Linked DNA regions of Homo sapiens: regions 2 and 3 are each linked to region 1. Evidence: promoter capture Hi-C in 16 types of primary human blood cells and fetal thymus (Javierre and others, 2016). All regions are on one chromosome and are shown on one strand. Each heading gives the region's core, a stretch centred on a gene start or on the middle of the fragment in contact. The rest is flanking DNA. Distances are from core to core; before and after follow the strand shown.

Evidence for each region. The method cuts DNA at HindIII sites, captures the fragments that hold promoters and counts their contacts. A CHiCAGO score of 5 or more calls a contact.
Region 2: a fragment that was not itself captured here is called in contact with the fragment with the promoter of HPRT1 in region 1 in 1 of 17 cell types (neutrophils); the score reaches 6.8 in neutrophils.
Region 3: a fragment that was not itself captured here is called in contact with the fragment with the promoter of HPRT1 in region 1 in 1 of 17 cell types (erythroblasts); the score reaches 5.4 in erythroblasts.

The regions. Positions count from the first base shown.
Region 1 is chrX:134,457,000-134,462,088 of GRCh38, reverse strand. HPRT1 (hypoxanthine phosphoribosyltransferase 1) reads right to left here and starts at 1,924. Exons shown (of 9, transcript NM_000194.3): 1 at 1,751-1,924. The coding sequence starts at 1,777. RefSeq lists silencers at 1,653-1,832, 1,933-2,052. The HindIII fragment of the contact is 6,801 bases long and covers 1-5,089 here.
Region 2 is chrX:135,038,893-135,043,981 of GRCh38, reverse strand. No RefSeq gene overlaps it. Among named protein-coding and RNA genes, the nearest start is that of RTL8C, 9.1 kb to the right of the region's middle. The HindIII fragment of the contact is 5,942 bases long and covers 1-5,089 here.
Region 3 is chrX:134,982,657-134,987,745 of GRCh38, reverse strand. No RefSeq gene overlaps it. Among named protein-coding and RNA genes, the nearest start is that of SMIM10, 5.8 kb to the left of the region's middle. The HindIII fragment of the contact is 252 bases long and covers 3,008-3,259 here.

The DNA.
Region 1 (5,089 bases), core at 675-3,174:
AGCCTGGGGAGAATCACCCGAGCCCGGGAAGTCGAGGCTGCAGTGAGCAGTGATTGTGCCACTGCACTCCATCCTAGGTGACAGAGTGAGACCCTGTCTCAAAAAAAAGAAATTGGCAGAATTAAGTAAGTTGATGTTTAGAGATGAAAAATCAACATTTTTTCCTCAGCAACTGAATAAAAACAACAGCCACTACCATTTTTTTGAGTACCTATTTGTAGCCTATTTTTTAACTGGTATTACTCGAGAGAGAGAGAGCTAGGTTCGAGACAGAGCTCCTTCTCTTAATAACTGTATGACCTAGGGTATGTCTGTTAGCCTCTCTGAGGCTTCAAAGGTTCCTCATCTGTAAAATGGTAATAATCATACCATTGCTACAGGGCTGTTTTGAAGACTAATTAGGACTATGTAAGTAAACATGATGATGGCTATTATTACTGTTCCCCGCCAGGGGCCATGCAAGGGTTGCTGATTCACATAGACTGTCTTATAATCCTCTCAATAACTCCAAGAGGTAGCCAGCACCTCAGATATACATAAAATGACTTAAGCCCAGAGAGGTGAAGTAAGTTGCCCACAGCCACACAACTAGTAAATAGCCCAAACAAGCTGGATTCCCAGTTAGACTCCGTTAATAGCACTGCTCTTTACCTTAAGTCATTACAATGCCTAATATGAAATAGAATCGCTTCTTTCTTAGGGTTCAAGTGGTTAATTATTTAATGTATTCATTCAACAAACCATCATCGAGGACCTCTTACAAGCCAAGTACTGTGCTAAGTGCTAGAGTTACGGCGGTGATTCCTGCCCTTAAAAAGTTTTAGTGGGAGAAACAACAGGTAACCAGGTCATTGCCAAAACAACAAAAATAATCATAATAAAGCAGGCTAAAGCATATTTAACTGGCCGGGGTTTTGACTATTTTAGCAAGCATGATCAGAACGGTTGAGGAGGGAGGCCAGCAGCTTGGCCGGTTCAACAAACAAGAAAAAACCAGTGAGGGTGGAGCTAAGATACCAGAGGCTGATTACGGTTAAGAATGTTCTTGAAGGTAAGGACCAGATTCTCATTTTCTATATCCTGGGGCATCGGTCAGCATGGAATCTGGATTCTAGCACATGTGAATTTCGGCTTGAAATGACCTAATGCCTTTTCCCTAGTTCCTTCGTGTGTCAAATACGCATGGTTACCGCTACCAGAGCTGTAGTGGGGCTTCAATGAGGCCATGAGCATCTCCATAAAGATGAACTACAGTGTGTGCAAAACTAAAGGCAAAACCTGGTCCCCACACGCCCTCCCAGGTGGTCGCTTTCCGTGCCGAGGCCCCTCCAGAGGTGCCCCGAGAACCTCACCATCGCACCCCAAACTTCCAGGGAAGGGCCTCTCCCGAGAAAGCCCCCACGCCCCCACCCCGCGCCATCATTCCCGAATCTGCCCTCGGCCCCTCCCCGCAGCACGCTCGCAGGCGGCACATGTCAACCAAAACGCCATTTCCACCTTCTCTTCCCACACGCAGTCCTCTTTTCCCAGGGCTCCCCCGAGGAGGGACCCACCCCAAACCCCGCCATTCCGTCCTCCCTGCCGCCCTCGCGTGACGTAAAGCCGAACCCGGGAAACTGGCCGCCCCCGCCTGCGGGGTTCCCTGGGCCCGGCCGCCCGAGCCCGCACTGCGGATCCCGCGCCTCAGGGCCCGGCCGCCACCTGCCGCGTGGGCCTGAACCGGCCAGGGCCGGCAGGCCGAGCTGCTCACCACGACGCCAGGGCTGCGGGTCGCCATAACGGAGCCGGCCGGCGCGCGGGCTGACTGCTCAGGAGGAGGAAGCCGGTGGCGGAGCAGAGGAGGAGGCGGAGGCGCAGCAAGAGGCGGCGCCGCGCGGGAAAGCCGAGAGGTTCGCCTGAGGGCTCGTCGCAGCCGCCTGAAGCTGAGGAGAAGCAGGCCCCGCCCTCTGCCCGCCCCGCCACGCCCCGCAGGCCCCGCCCCCGGCCCCGCCCGCGCGCCTACGCCGGCGCCTACCAGTTTGCAGGCTCACTAGGTAGCCGTGGGAATTTTCTCCCAGAAGAAGCCGAGGCTCCCCCAGCGAAGCCCCTTTCCCTCCCAACTCAGTCTCCTATTCAGAGGGCTCCCTGATTCCCAAACCTACCGGCGCGCGTTGCTTCATGGCGGCCGTAAACCGGGCCCCGGCTCTTCGGGTTCCAGTCATCGCGTGAATCCTTGGACCAGACGTCCCATTCCCAAGACCTTGCACTACCTGTGGCTTCCATTTTCCTGACTCTTGGCCCAGTGCTTCCCCAAACCCTTAACTGGTTGTAACAGTTGAGACCTAGAGTCCTAGAGTCACCCAGATCAGGGTACACATCTGAGAGGACACTTAACTGCTCTGTAGTTTTGTACAAATCAGACTCTGAGCCTCTATTTTTGCCTCACTAAAATGAGCATATTAGCCCGGCGCGGTGGCTCATGCCTGTAATCCCAGCACTTTGGGAGGCCGAGGCAGGTGGATCACTCAAGGTCAGGAGTACGAGACCAGCCTGGCCAACATGGCGAAACCCCATCTCTACTAAAAATACAAAAATTAGCTGGGCGTGGAGGCGGGCGCCTGTAATCCCAGCTAGTCCGGAGGCTGAGGCAGGAGAATCACTTGAACCCGGGAGGCGGAGGTCGCACTGAGCTGAGATCGCACCACTGCACTTCAGCCTCCGCGACAGAATGAGACTCCGTCTCAAAAATAAATAAAAATAAAAATAAATAAAAATTTAAAAATAAAATGAGCATATTAACAATACATAAACAGGATCATTTTGAGTATTAGAGGAGTATAGGTATGCGTGTGTGTATGTATATATATATGCACTTAGGACAGTACAGTCAGCAAATGGGAACTACTGTTATTACTACTGATCTTTATTTTTGCCCACACAAGTTCTTATATTGAATCTGAAAACAAAAATATGTTCCCCTGCTAATTAATTCTCAGATAGGTCAGGTAAGCAAGCAACAGTTGCTCCAGCAACACCATTTCTTATATACTCAACCCTATAGCTCCAGCATCCACCACAGTGCCCAGCACATAGTTGGTGGCCTCCCTCTTATTAAGGACGCTGAGGGGTATGTGATGGCAGGAGATTTGTAAAACTAGGCAAGTCATTGAGCTTCTCTGGACCTCAGTCTCTTCATCTAAAAAATGAGAATAATAAACCTGGGTAACATGGTGAGACTCAGTCTCTACAAAAATGAAAAATTATCTGGGCCTGGTGGCCATGTGCCTGTAGCCCCAGCTACTTGGGAGGCTGAGGTGGGAGGATGGCTTGAGCCCAGGAGGTCCAGGCTGCAGTGAGCCAAGACTGTGCCACTGCACTCCAGCCTGGGCAACAGAGAAATATCCTGTCTCAAGAAAAAAGAAAAAGAGAGAGAGAGAGAATAATAACTACTGCCATGAAGAGTTTTACGAGAATTCTAAAAATCATTTATGTAAAGTACCTCATATAGTATTTGCCACATAATAGGTGCTCAAGAAACAGTAGCTGTTATAATTTTAGCATGTATGAATTTGTGAAGTCCATACTTCCCTACTTTCCCTGTCTTCCCTCTTTATCCTGGAGAGGCAGCAGGCTGTAATGGAAAAGGGATGTATGGGCTTTGGACTGAGTTCAAATCCTGGGTTCCCCACTATTATAGCATTTTGACTTTGGGCAAGATCCTTGGTCCCTGCGTGCTTGGTTTCTTATACGTCAAATGAGGTTAATATCTCTGTCACAGAGTGTGGTGAAGATTAAACAAAATAATATATGCAAAAGTGCCTAGCATAGAGCTTGGCTCAATACATGATGATACCAATGTTACGTGTTCCATAATAATTTTGCCTTAAACAGTTCACTTTCTTCTAGCCTCTAAGACTTTTTTTTTTTTTTTTGAGACAGAGTCTCGCTCTGCTGCTCTGCTGGAGTGCAGTTGAATGATCTCAGCTCACTGCAACCTCTGCCTCCCGGGTTCAAGCAATTCTCCTGCCTCAGCTTCCCGAGTAGCTGGGACTACAGGCGTGTGACACCAGACCTGGCTAATGTTTGTATTTTTAGTAGAAAATGGGGTTTCACCATGTTGGCCAGGCTGGTCTTGAACTCCTGACCCCAGGTGATCCGCCCATTTTGGCTTCCCAAAGTGGTGAGATTACAGATGTGAGCCACCACGCCCAGCCTGCCTCTAAGACTTCTTATCCATTCCCCTGTTGATGGACATTTGGGCAGTTTCCAGGTTTGGGCTATTAGAAATAATGCTACTATGAACATTTTGTACATATCTTTTGGTGAATATATGAATGCATTTCTATTTGGCATAGAACTTGAAATTCATATTAGAACATTTTCATTACTTATCCTTTTAACAAACATTGTGTTCTATCAGGAAGTTAATTCAGAGAACTTCCGGTTATATATTCGTCCCCTGACACATGTGGTCTCAGCTACTCAAATTTGTTTCTAAATTAGGTACCCAACAATTCAGAATCCTTCCAGCTTGCCTCTGGCTTGCAGTTCCTTTCTCCAAATCCTGCAGTACCAGATACTCCTGTATTTTAATAGTGGATTTGAAACAAATAATGATAGCCAGATGATTGTAAAAACAAAGAAACAGTACTGTTCTTTCAATCTTGTCATTCTGTGTGACAATTTGGACTTTTTATTTGTATTTAAAATGGAAAACAGCAAACACTGCAATCTGCAAGATGTAAGACTTTTTCTTGGTAAGTGAAAATCTGGTTCACATATGAAATGGTTTACTGAATTTCCACATTATATTTAAAGTGGAAATGTATTCTTCTAAAATATTGTTTTCCCACTACAGACAAAAGCAAGAAAATAATTATTCCTAATTATTATATGATTATTATTGAAAATGATTTTGTCATAGAGGTGAAAAATGTTAAAAAATTATCTACTCTGGACGTCCTATATGCTAGGTATGTCACTGTTCTTTACTGGAATATCTGCATGCAGGAAGAAATAAGGAAAGCATGAGTGTAACCTAAGATTCCTCTTCCCGATGCCTTTCCAGAAACAATTTTTTTTTTTTTGAGATGGAGTCTTGCTCTGTCAC
Region 2 (5,089 bases), core at 1,116-3,615, 580 kb before region 1:
AAAAATCAACATTGTTAAAATAGCCATACTGCCCAAAGCAATTTAAAGATTCAATGCTATTCCTATCAAACTACCAATGACATTTTTCACAGAACTAGAAAAATCTATTCTAAAATTTCTATGGAACCACAAAAGAGCCCGAATAGCCAAAGCAATCCTAAGCAAAAAGGACAAAACTGCTGGAGGCATCACACTACCCGACTTCATACCATTCGACAAGTCTACGGTAACCAAAACAGCATGGTACTGGTACAAAAACAGACACATGGACCAATGTAACAGAATACAGAGCCCAGATAGAAAACCACACAACTACAACCATCTAATCTTCGACAAAGTTGACAAAAACAAGCAATGAGGAAAGGAATCCCTATTCAATAAATGGTGCAGGGATAACTGGCTAGCATACGCATAAGACTGAAACTGGACCTCTTCCTTACACCATATGCAAAAGTCAACTCAAGATTGATTAAAGACTTAACTGTAAAACTTTAAACTATAAAACCCCTTGAATAAAACCTAGGAAATACCATTCTGAACATAAGTCCTGGCAAAGATTTCAAGATGAAGATACCAAAAGCAATTGCAACAAAAGCAAAAATTGACAAATGGGACCTAATTAAACTAAAGAGTTTCTGCACAGCAAAAGAAACTATCAACAGATAAACAGATGACTTACAGAATAGTAGAAAATAATCGCAAACTAGGCATCTGACAAAGGTCTAATATCCAGAATCCACAAGGAACTTAAACAATTTCAATGAGAAAAAAAAATCTCATTAAAAAGTGGACAAACAACATGAACAGACACCTCTCTAAAGAAGACATGCAAGCAGCCAATAAATAAGAAAAAAATGCTTAACATCACTAATCATTAGAGAAATGCAAATCAAAACCACAATGAGATACCATCCCACACCAGTCAGAATGGCTATTATTAAAAGGTCAAAAAATAAGAGAATGCTTGCAAGGTTGCAGAGAAAAGGGAACACTTATACACTGCTGGTGGGAATGTAAATTAGTTCAGCTACTGTGGAAAGCAGTTTGGCAATTTCTCAAAGAACTTAAAATAGAACTACCATTCAACCCAACAATCCCTTTATTGGGTACATGCCCAAAGGAATATGAATTGTTCTACCATAAAGACATATGCATGCATATGTTCATTGCAGCACTAGCAATAGCAAGGACATGGAATCAACCTAAATGCTCATCAATGGTAGACTCAATAAAGAAAATGTGGTACATATACACCATGGAATACTGGGCAGCCATAAAAAAGAATGAGATCACGTCCTTTGCAACAATAAGGAATGAGCTGGAGGCCATTATCTTAAGTGAACTAAAGCAGGAACAGAAAACCAAATACCACGTTCTCACTTACAAGTGGGAGCTAAACATTGAGTGCACATGAACACAAAGAAAGAAACAATAGACACCAGGGCCTACTTGAAGTTGGAGGGTGGGATGGGGGTGAAGATTGAAAAACTACTTATTGGGTACTAGGCTTATTACCTAGGCAACAAAATAATCTGTATGCCAAAGCCCTGCGACATGCAATTTATATAACAAACCTGCACAGGTACCCCTGAAACTAAAATTTTTTTTAAAAAAAGAACATATAAATAGTTGCCACCAGTCAATAAAATGAGAAACCAATAAAAAATAGGTGAGATTTTTGAATGAGTGTATTAGTTAATTTTCTGTTGCTTATAACAGAATACCTGAAACAGTGTAATTTTTTTTTTAATAATGTATTCTTACAGTTATGGAGGCAGAGAAGTCCAAGTCAAGGGGTCACAACTGATGAGACCCTTCCTGCTGGTGAGGACTGTTTGCAGAGTCCCAATATGGTGCAGGGTATCACATGGTGAAGGAGCTGAGTGTGCTAACTTGCAAGCTCAGATTTCCCTTTCCCTTTCTCTTCTTATAAAGCCACCAGTTCCTTTCCCAGAACAACCCATTAATCCATTAATCTATGAATGAATTAATCCATTTACTTTAAGAGATGATCCAATCACCTCTTAAAGGCCCTACCTCTCAATATTGCCACACTGGGGATTAAGTTGTGTTAGTCTGTTCTCATGCTGCTGTGAAGAAATACCCAAGACTGGGTAATTTATAAAGAAAACAGGTTTAATTGACTCACAGTTAAATTGACTCACAGTTCTGGGGAGGCCTCAGAAAACTTAGGATCACAGTGGAAGGCACCTCTTCACAGGGTGGCAGGATAGAGAATGAGAGCCAGATTCTCTCTTCCTCCTTCCTTCTTTTCTCACTTTCTTTCTTGAGTTCTTGCTTTCTTTTTTCTCCTTTCCTGCCTTTCTCCCTTCCTCCCTCCCTCCCTTCTCTCATTTCCTCCTTTTCTTTCTTCTTTCCTTCCTTCCTTCTTTTTTCTTTCTTTTCTTTCTCTTTACTACAATCCATATTATTTAAAAAAAAATTAAGAAAGAGAGGCAGAAAAATAAAGAACACTTTAATCTGCAGGTAAATAAAAAAAAAAAAAAAAAGAGAATGAGAGCCAGCAGAGAAAATGCCAGATGCTTATAAAACCATCAGCTCTTGTGAGACTCACTCATTATCATAAGAATAGCATGGGGAAAACCGCCCCCATAACTCAGTTACCTCCTGCTGGGTCCTTCCCACAACATGTGGGGATTATGGGGATTACAATTCAAGATGAGATTTGGGTTGGGGGGACACAGCCAAACCATATCAAGTTGCACCATGAGTTTTAGTGGGGACAAATATTCCAACCATAGTAATCGGCATTTCATTAAAAAGGGTAGCAAAGTGGGTAAAAAGCATATGAAGAGACACGCATTATCATTAGTAATAATAGAAATGTAATTTTTTTTTTAGAAACAGGGTCTCACTCTGTCACCCAGGCTGGAGTGCAGTGGCACAATCACAACTCACTGCAACCTGGACTTCCCAGGCTCAGGTGATTCTGTCAGCCTCTTGAGTAGCTGGGACTACAGGTGCATACCACCACACCTAGCTAATTTTTTTTTTTTTTTTTTTTTTTTAGAGATATGGTCTCACTATATTGTCCAGGCTGGTCTGGAACTCCTGTGCTCAAGTAATCCTCCCACCTCAGCCTCCCAAAGTGCTGAGATTGCAGGTGTCAGCCACTTCACTCAGCCTAGAAATGCAAATTTAGCACAATGAGATATCACCACAGACTTATCAACTTATACCTCAATAAATAAGAGTGAACACTTGAAACACACAACATAGATGAATCTCACAGACATACAGCATAAATTCTGTATAATTTCATTTACAAGCAGTTCAAAAACAGGTAAAGTTTATCTTTGGTAATAAAGGTCAGAAGAATGTTTATACATAAGAGGCTCCTGCCTGAGAGGGGGCATGAGAGTCCTTTTGAATGCTGGAAATGTTCTATACATTGATCTGAGTGGTGTTATACTGATGTATACATATGTAAATGTTCATCTAGTTATACACTTAAGATTTTTATCCTTTGCTGGATGTAACATATCTCAGTTTTTTTAATATCAGAAAAAGAAAAAGGATTGTATATTTAGATAAGCAGTAGAAAAGTTACAGAACACCAAACACAAAGAGATCTTTCAAACAACTAAAGAGGAAACACAAAATTAGGCTGACAAATAATTTTTTAATAGCAAAAATGGAAGCTAAAAGACTACAGAATAATGCTGTTTCCATCAATTCTATTCAAATTTGTCACTTTTTAATATCTCTTATATCAAGGTGTTTATTACAATCAATCAAAATTATGAATTGTTGTTGGCCCAGGGGCTGCTGTGACATAATAGTTACTGCCTGCTTACATGCAAACATTAAAAGCACCTGTATCAAAACTTGCCAAACTGATGACGATGGATTAACGGGAAAAATTTAGGACAAAAAAGTGAAATTGTCATTTAAGAACTATTGCATCACTAAGGTTTTGGTGGTACATAATACAATATTATATAGAAAAAAAGAGATATGAATGGTTCCACAAGTCAAAGAGACTCAACAAGAATAATTTTAAAAGAATGAGGATAAAATAACTTTTCAGAAAATGAAAGACATCACAGTTTCCCTAATAGACCATTATTAAAGGAGTATATCTATAGGATATACTTTAGAAGAAGGAAAATGTACTAGTATAAATGTCTGGAATGCTGGCAAAGAAAATGGCAAATACATGGCTAAATCTAAACAAACAATAGCATAAATGTCTAATTTGAAGATGAAAAAACAGAGCTAAAGTAATGAGAAGAAGAACATTTACCCTGGGAGGCAATTATTTGTAATTAAAACGTTCTAAGTTCCTTGTATTAATTCATTACTTTTTTCTACTCATTAAGAAGTTATACATTCTATTTACATTATTTTAGTGATCACTCCAAAAAGTTAATATGCATAGTTAACATATAAATTTAGTCAATACAAAGTAATTAAAGCAACACACTTGACAAAAAGTTAGACCGATGGTACCAAATACTAGTGAGGAAATGGGACCACAAACATTGAGGGCAAGAGTGTAAAGTAAAAGAAATATTTTGGAAAACAACTTGGCTGTGCCTTTAGATTGGGTTCCCCATAAGCTGACTCTGATTGAGGACTCATCGGAAAGTGATATATTAGGAAGTGGTCCAAGTAAAAATATAGTGACCAGGGAGTGGGACCATGCAACAGGGAGAGGAAGAAGGCCGAACAATATTTTGATATCAACCAAGGTACCATTTAGGATCACTTTGGCACAATCCAATAGGGGGACACTGGAGACAATACAGGTCACAAATCACAGTTGTCTCAAACAGAACAACAGAGCTGGAATACTTATAACTATATATCTACCAATTATTAGCTAAAGTCTACTCTCTGGAGGACTTTAATTCTCAGATACTGGCTCTTCATGCTTGGAGACAAAAGGAGGTTGGTTCTGTAGTCCTGTGACAAAAAGCCACAGATTCTGGCTATTGGGGGAAAAAGCAAAAGCAGAGCTAAGGTGGATTAAAATGGCCAAGAGTACCAAGGGGATAAAGATAGAATATTAACAGTATCTGTTTTAGTGGGTATTAATCTTAACACCATGGAAAATAATATGACA
Region 3 (5,089 bases), core at 1,884-4,383, 520 kb before region 1:
TGCTTATTGGTCATTTGTAGTGGCGTCAAAAGGAAGGAGAGCCAGATGGGTGGGATGACTGGTGGCTACGCAGAAGGCTTACAACTAGGCTGTGGAAACCCCAGGGGCGGTGGCTGTGACAGCAAGGAAGAGGGCTAGGCAGCCTTCTCCTTGCCTTTTCATATCTCCCTGCCCCTCATATTGCCTAGGCCTTGGCCCCTTTGCTCATTTCTATATTAAAATGTTTGCCTAGGCCGGGCGCTGTGGCTCATGCCTGTAATCCCAGCACTTTGGGAGGCCGAGGCGGGTGGATCACGAGGTCAGGCGATTGAGACCATCCTGGCTAACATGGTGAAACCCCGTCTGTACTAAAAATACAAAAAAATTAGCCGGGCATGGTGGCAGGCACCTGTAGTCCCAGCTACTCGGGAGGCTGAGGCAGGAGAATGGCGTGAACCCAGGAGGCGGAGCTTGCAGTGAGCCGAGATCACACCACTGCACTCCAGCCTGGGCGACAGAGCGAGACTCCGTCTCAAAAAAAAAAAAAAAAAAAAGTTTGCCTAAGGCAGACAGAACAGCACAAGCAGCCTAAAATTGATAAAATCCCAACCAGAGCCCTGGGAGAGAAATAGAGTGGTCAAAATGGCCTAAAGTAATGCATTAAGCAAAGGAAATGCACCCTTCTCTCTCATGCTAGACACCAAATATGAAACAGTAGAATTAGGTCAAAGTTCTTCTCTTTGGAAAATTATACAAGTCATCTTTTGCTCTTCTTTCTCACGGTAGAGTGCATATGCCTTGATTCTTTTGTCTGAACCACTCACTCTATATATACGGGAAGAGGCCAGGCATGGTGGTTCACGCTTGTAATCCCAGCACTTTGGGAGGCCGATACAGGAGAGTTGTGTGAGCTCAGGAGTCCAGAACCAGCTTGGGCAACATAGGGAGACTTTGTCTCTATTTCAAAAAAGAAAGAAAGAGAAAGAAAGAAAGAAAGAAAGGAAGGAAGGAAGGAAGGAAGGAAGGAAGGAAGGAAGGAAGGAAGGAAGGAAGGAAGAAAAAAGAAAGAAAGAAAGAAAGAAAGAAAGAAAGAAAGAAAGAAAGAAAGAAAGAAAGAAAGAAAGAAAATAAATAAATAAATCAGCCACTCGTGGTGGCACATGCTTGTAGTAGTCCCAGCTACTCAAGAGACTGAGGCGGTAGGATTGTTTGAGCTTAGGAGATCAAGGCTGCAGTGAGCTATGATCTCACCACTGCACTCCAGGCTCGGTGACAGAGCAAGCTTCTCTCTCTCTCTCTCTCTCTCTCTCTATATATATATATATATGTATATATACACACACATATATATGTTATTTACATATGCTTATGTATGTGTGTACATATATACATACATATACATGTACATATAGGAAGAATATAGTACATATACGTATAATTTTTTGCACTGCTACCATTGATCTATAGATAGTAGATTAAAATGTAATCTGAGGTTGTTGTGGTGCAAGATACTCAATTGAACACAGGTATTTACCTTCCCAAAACAAATAGAAACAATTATAAAGAAGTATAAATTCATTCATAAAAGCAGTGGAGAGGGTGAGGATGGCAGAGCAAAGACTTTGATAGCTTCCTGAAATGAATGCTGAGTGGATCAAACTGAAAAATAAATCAGAGTATACTGCACCAATGATTCTCAGGAAAAGGCTGCAGCATAGGTGGAAGCCATTTTCATGGAAGAAGCACCCTCTGCTCTCCAGGTACAGAGAGTGGAAGTGGGAGGATCACATAAAATCAGATGATTATTTGAAGAACTATTTGGATCTATTTCTTTTCTCTTGAATCTGCTGTGTGACTTGCTTTGGTCAATGGGACATTGGCTAAAATGGTGCACGCAAAAGCTGGAAAAGTGCTTTTGCATTGGGGCTTGCTAGTCTTGGAAACCTGCTGCTATCATGCAAACAAACCAGATGTCGAGAGATACATGCTCCAACCATCCCTTTTGGCCCAACTCATGGCCAACCAATCCCTAGAAGTAGTGTCACTGAAACCAACAGCAGCAGACCACAGACATATGAGTGAGTTCAGCTGATGCAAGCAGAAGACTAGCCCAGCTGAGCCCAGCCCAAATTGTCAACCCCCAACAATCGTTAACTAAATAAATGGTGGTTGTGTAAGCTTTCGGTGGTTTGTTTCACAGCAAAAACTAACTGATAACCATGTCCCAGAATAGAGCTACTGAATGACAATCAAAATGGCTTGACCCACAGTGATCTGTCATGCAATTAATTAATCATAGGAACCCTAGGACTGATATACAGACTTGATCTGCTTAACCAAAGGAATTTTGGCAAACAGAAAGTTGGGTCACCATGATAGAGTGTCACAGCTCCTCAGTTCATATACCCAGATTCCCTAGAATAAAAGGGAGACTGAGTACCTTGAGGAAGGATGCTATGGCAACATTGCAATTATGTACTATAAATATTCCCAGCTATCCCCAGAAGAGGTCTGCAGCAATTTACCAAGGTAAATGTTCAAATACACGCACTCTTCGGGGATTATGGGACAATAGCTCTGAGCTGCCACTAATCCTGGGAACTCGGAACAACACTGTTGCCCACAGTCAGAGTGAGGGCTTGTGAAGATCAAATGATAATTGGAGTTTTGGCCTAAATTCAACTCATGGTGGGCTCAGTGGGTCTATAAATCCACTCTGGTGATTTCCCCAGTTGCTGGATTTACAGTTGTAATCAATAAAACTAGCAACTGGCAAAACAGCTCAATTGGCTTCCTGACCTGCAGAGTGAGAATCTTTATGATAGGAAGGGCCAGGTGGAAGCCTGGAACTTACTCTCCCTTCCAATTATAGCAGTGATAGCAAACACATGCATAGCACTTATTACATGCCAGACACTCTTTCAAGCACTTTCCATATGTTAACATATTATTCCTCAAAACAGCACTACAAGGTAGGTACTATAATTGTACACATTTTACAGAAAAGGAAATTAAGGCATTAAAAGCTTAAGTAACTTGCCCGAGGTCACTACTTAGTAATTGGTAGAACTGGAATGTAAACCAGAAACTAGCTTCAGAGTTCATGCTCTCAACCACTGTGCTACACTGTCAAAATAGTAAACCAAAATCAATAGTACATGCAAAGGAAACTGACAGAAATTAGGGCCATCATCAAGACTCAGAAAATTAAGGAGTAGTGATCCCTATTACATTCCTTTTTGATGAACCTGTTTCACTAGAGAAGAATACAGAGGAAGCTTAAATTAGAAGTGGTATATATGGATTGGCCTTGAACAGGTTCTGGAGGCACAACAAAGGTACCTAAGCAGTGGCTCACACTTCCAGTGTGTTCACACCTGCCACACTGCCTTCTCTTTCGCAACCCACACTTACAGTTTCATGGGGACTGCTTTGGGCTGAGTTGTGTCCGTGCCAGATTCATATGTTGAAGCCCTAACCCCCAGAATCACAGAATGCGACTATATTTGGAGATAGGGTTTTTAAAGAAGTAACTAAGGTTAAATGAGGTCATTAGGGTGGACCCTAATCCAACATCACTGATGTTCTTCTAAGAAGAAGGGATTAGGACACAAACACACACATAGGGAATACCATGTCAAGACACATGGAGAAGACGGCCACCAATAAGCCCAAGAATAGAGGCCTTCAGAAGTGACTCAGTCCATTCCTGCCACTATGACAAAATACCTTAGACTGAGTAATTTAAAAATAATAGAAATTTATTTCTCACAGTTCTGGAGCCTGGGAAGTCCAAGATCAAGTTGACAGCAAGTTCGTTGTCTAGTAAGGGCCTGGTGTCTGCTTCCAAGACGGCACCTCGAACACTGTTTCCTCACATGGCAAAAGGGACAGAAGGGCAAAAGGGCCTAGCTAGTTCCCTCAGCCCTTTCACAAGGCACTGATCCCATCCATGACAGCAGAGCTCTCGTGGCCTAATCACCTCCTAAAGGCCTTACCTCTTAATACTCTTGCATTGGGGATTAAGTTTCAACATTAATTCTGGAGGGAACACAAACATTCAAATTGTAGCAAAAAGAAACCAATTCAGCTGACAGCTTGATCTTGAACTTCTAGCCTCCAGAACTGTAAGGAAATACATTTCTGTTGTTTAAGTCACCTGTCTGTGGTACTTTGTTATGGCAGCCCTAGCAAACTAATACAGGGACCTCTGTATAACCAGCTATTTGAAGAGTAGAACATCTAAACCTATTTTAGCACATTTCTGCATGACCTAAGGGCACCAGCCAGAGCACATTGTTGTAGATCACAGCCCCACACAGGGGTAGCCCGGAAGGTCACTGAAGAAGAGTCTTTTCTGAGAACATAATTTCAAGTGGTATATCTGGTTGTTCACTTTGCTTGGAAGGAGAAGTGGCCTAAGGTATGGCTCTATACCATATGGTTCAGGGACTTGGAATGAACAAAATTTATAGTATTGGTAACAAGAAGGTTTTGGGGAAGTGGTATGTGGTTGGACCTCTACTAATGGTAAATACATTTGTGTTCCATATAAGTGCCCAACAGAGGGCATCAACTGTGATGGAGGGTATCGATAACTATGTGAACAAGATTACTTGCATTAGAATGTCAACCTCTTTCCCCAACTATCTTGAAGCTTACTCAAGGGGCCAATGTACAAAATGCCCATGGCTGCAGAGATGAAGGCTCTACATGGGCTCAATTGCATGGGCTTCCCCTCACCACGGCTGATCATAAAAGTTGTGTGTCCAATCCCAACTTCCCAGCAGCAGAGGCCAATACTGAACCTCCAGTATATACCACTTCCTTGTGTGGGAGGGCGAGGGGACTACAACCAGCCATCTTGTGGCAGGCTGTTCATAAGATAATAACTTATGGGGCTGCTCTGCCTAAGGAGTAGCCATTCTTTATTCTTTTACTTTCTTAATAAATTTGCTTTCACTTTGCTCTAAAACAAAAGATAATAACTTATGGGACTTTGGGCATCCTTTTTGGGGGAGAAGTCAGGTTTGATTTGTTTTGGTTCCCTTCCATTGTGCAGGGGACTGCAGTATCAATTTGCTTTCCTTGACTGCAACACTTCAACCAG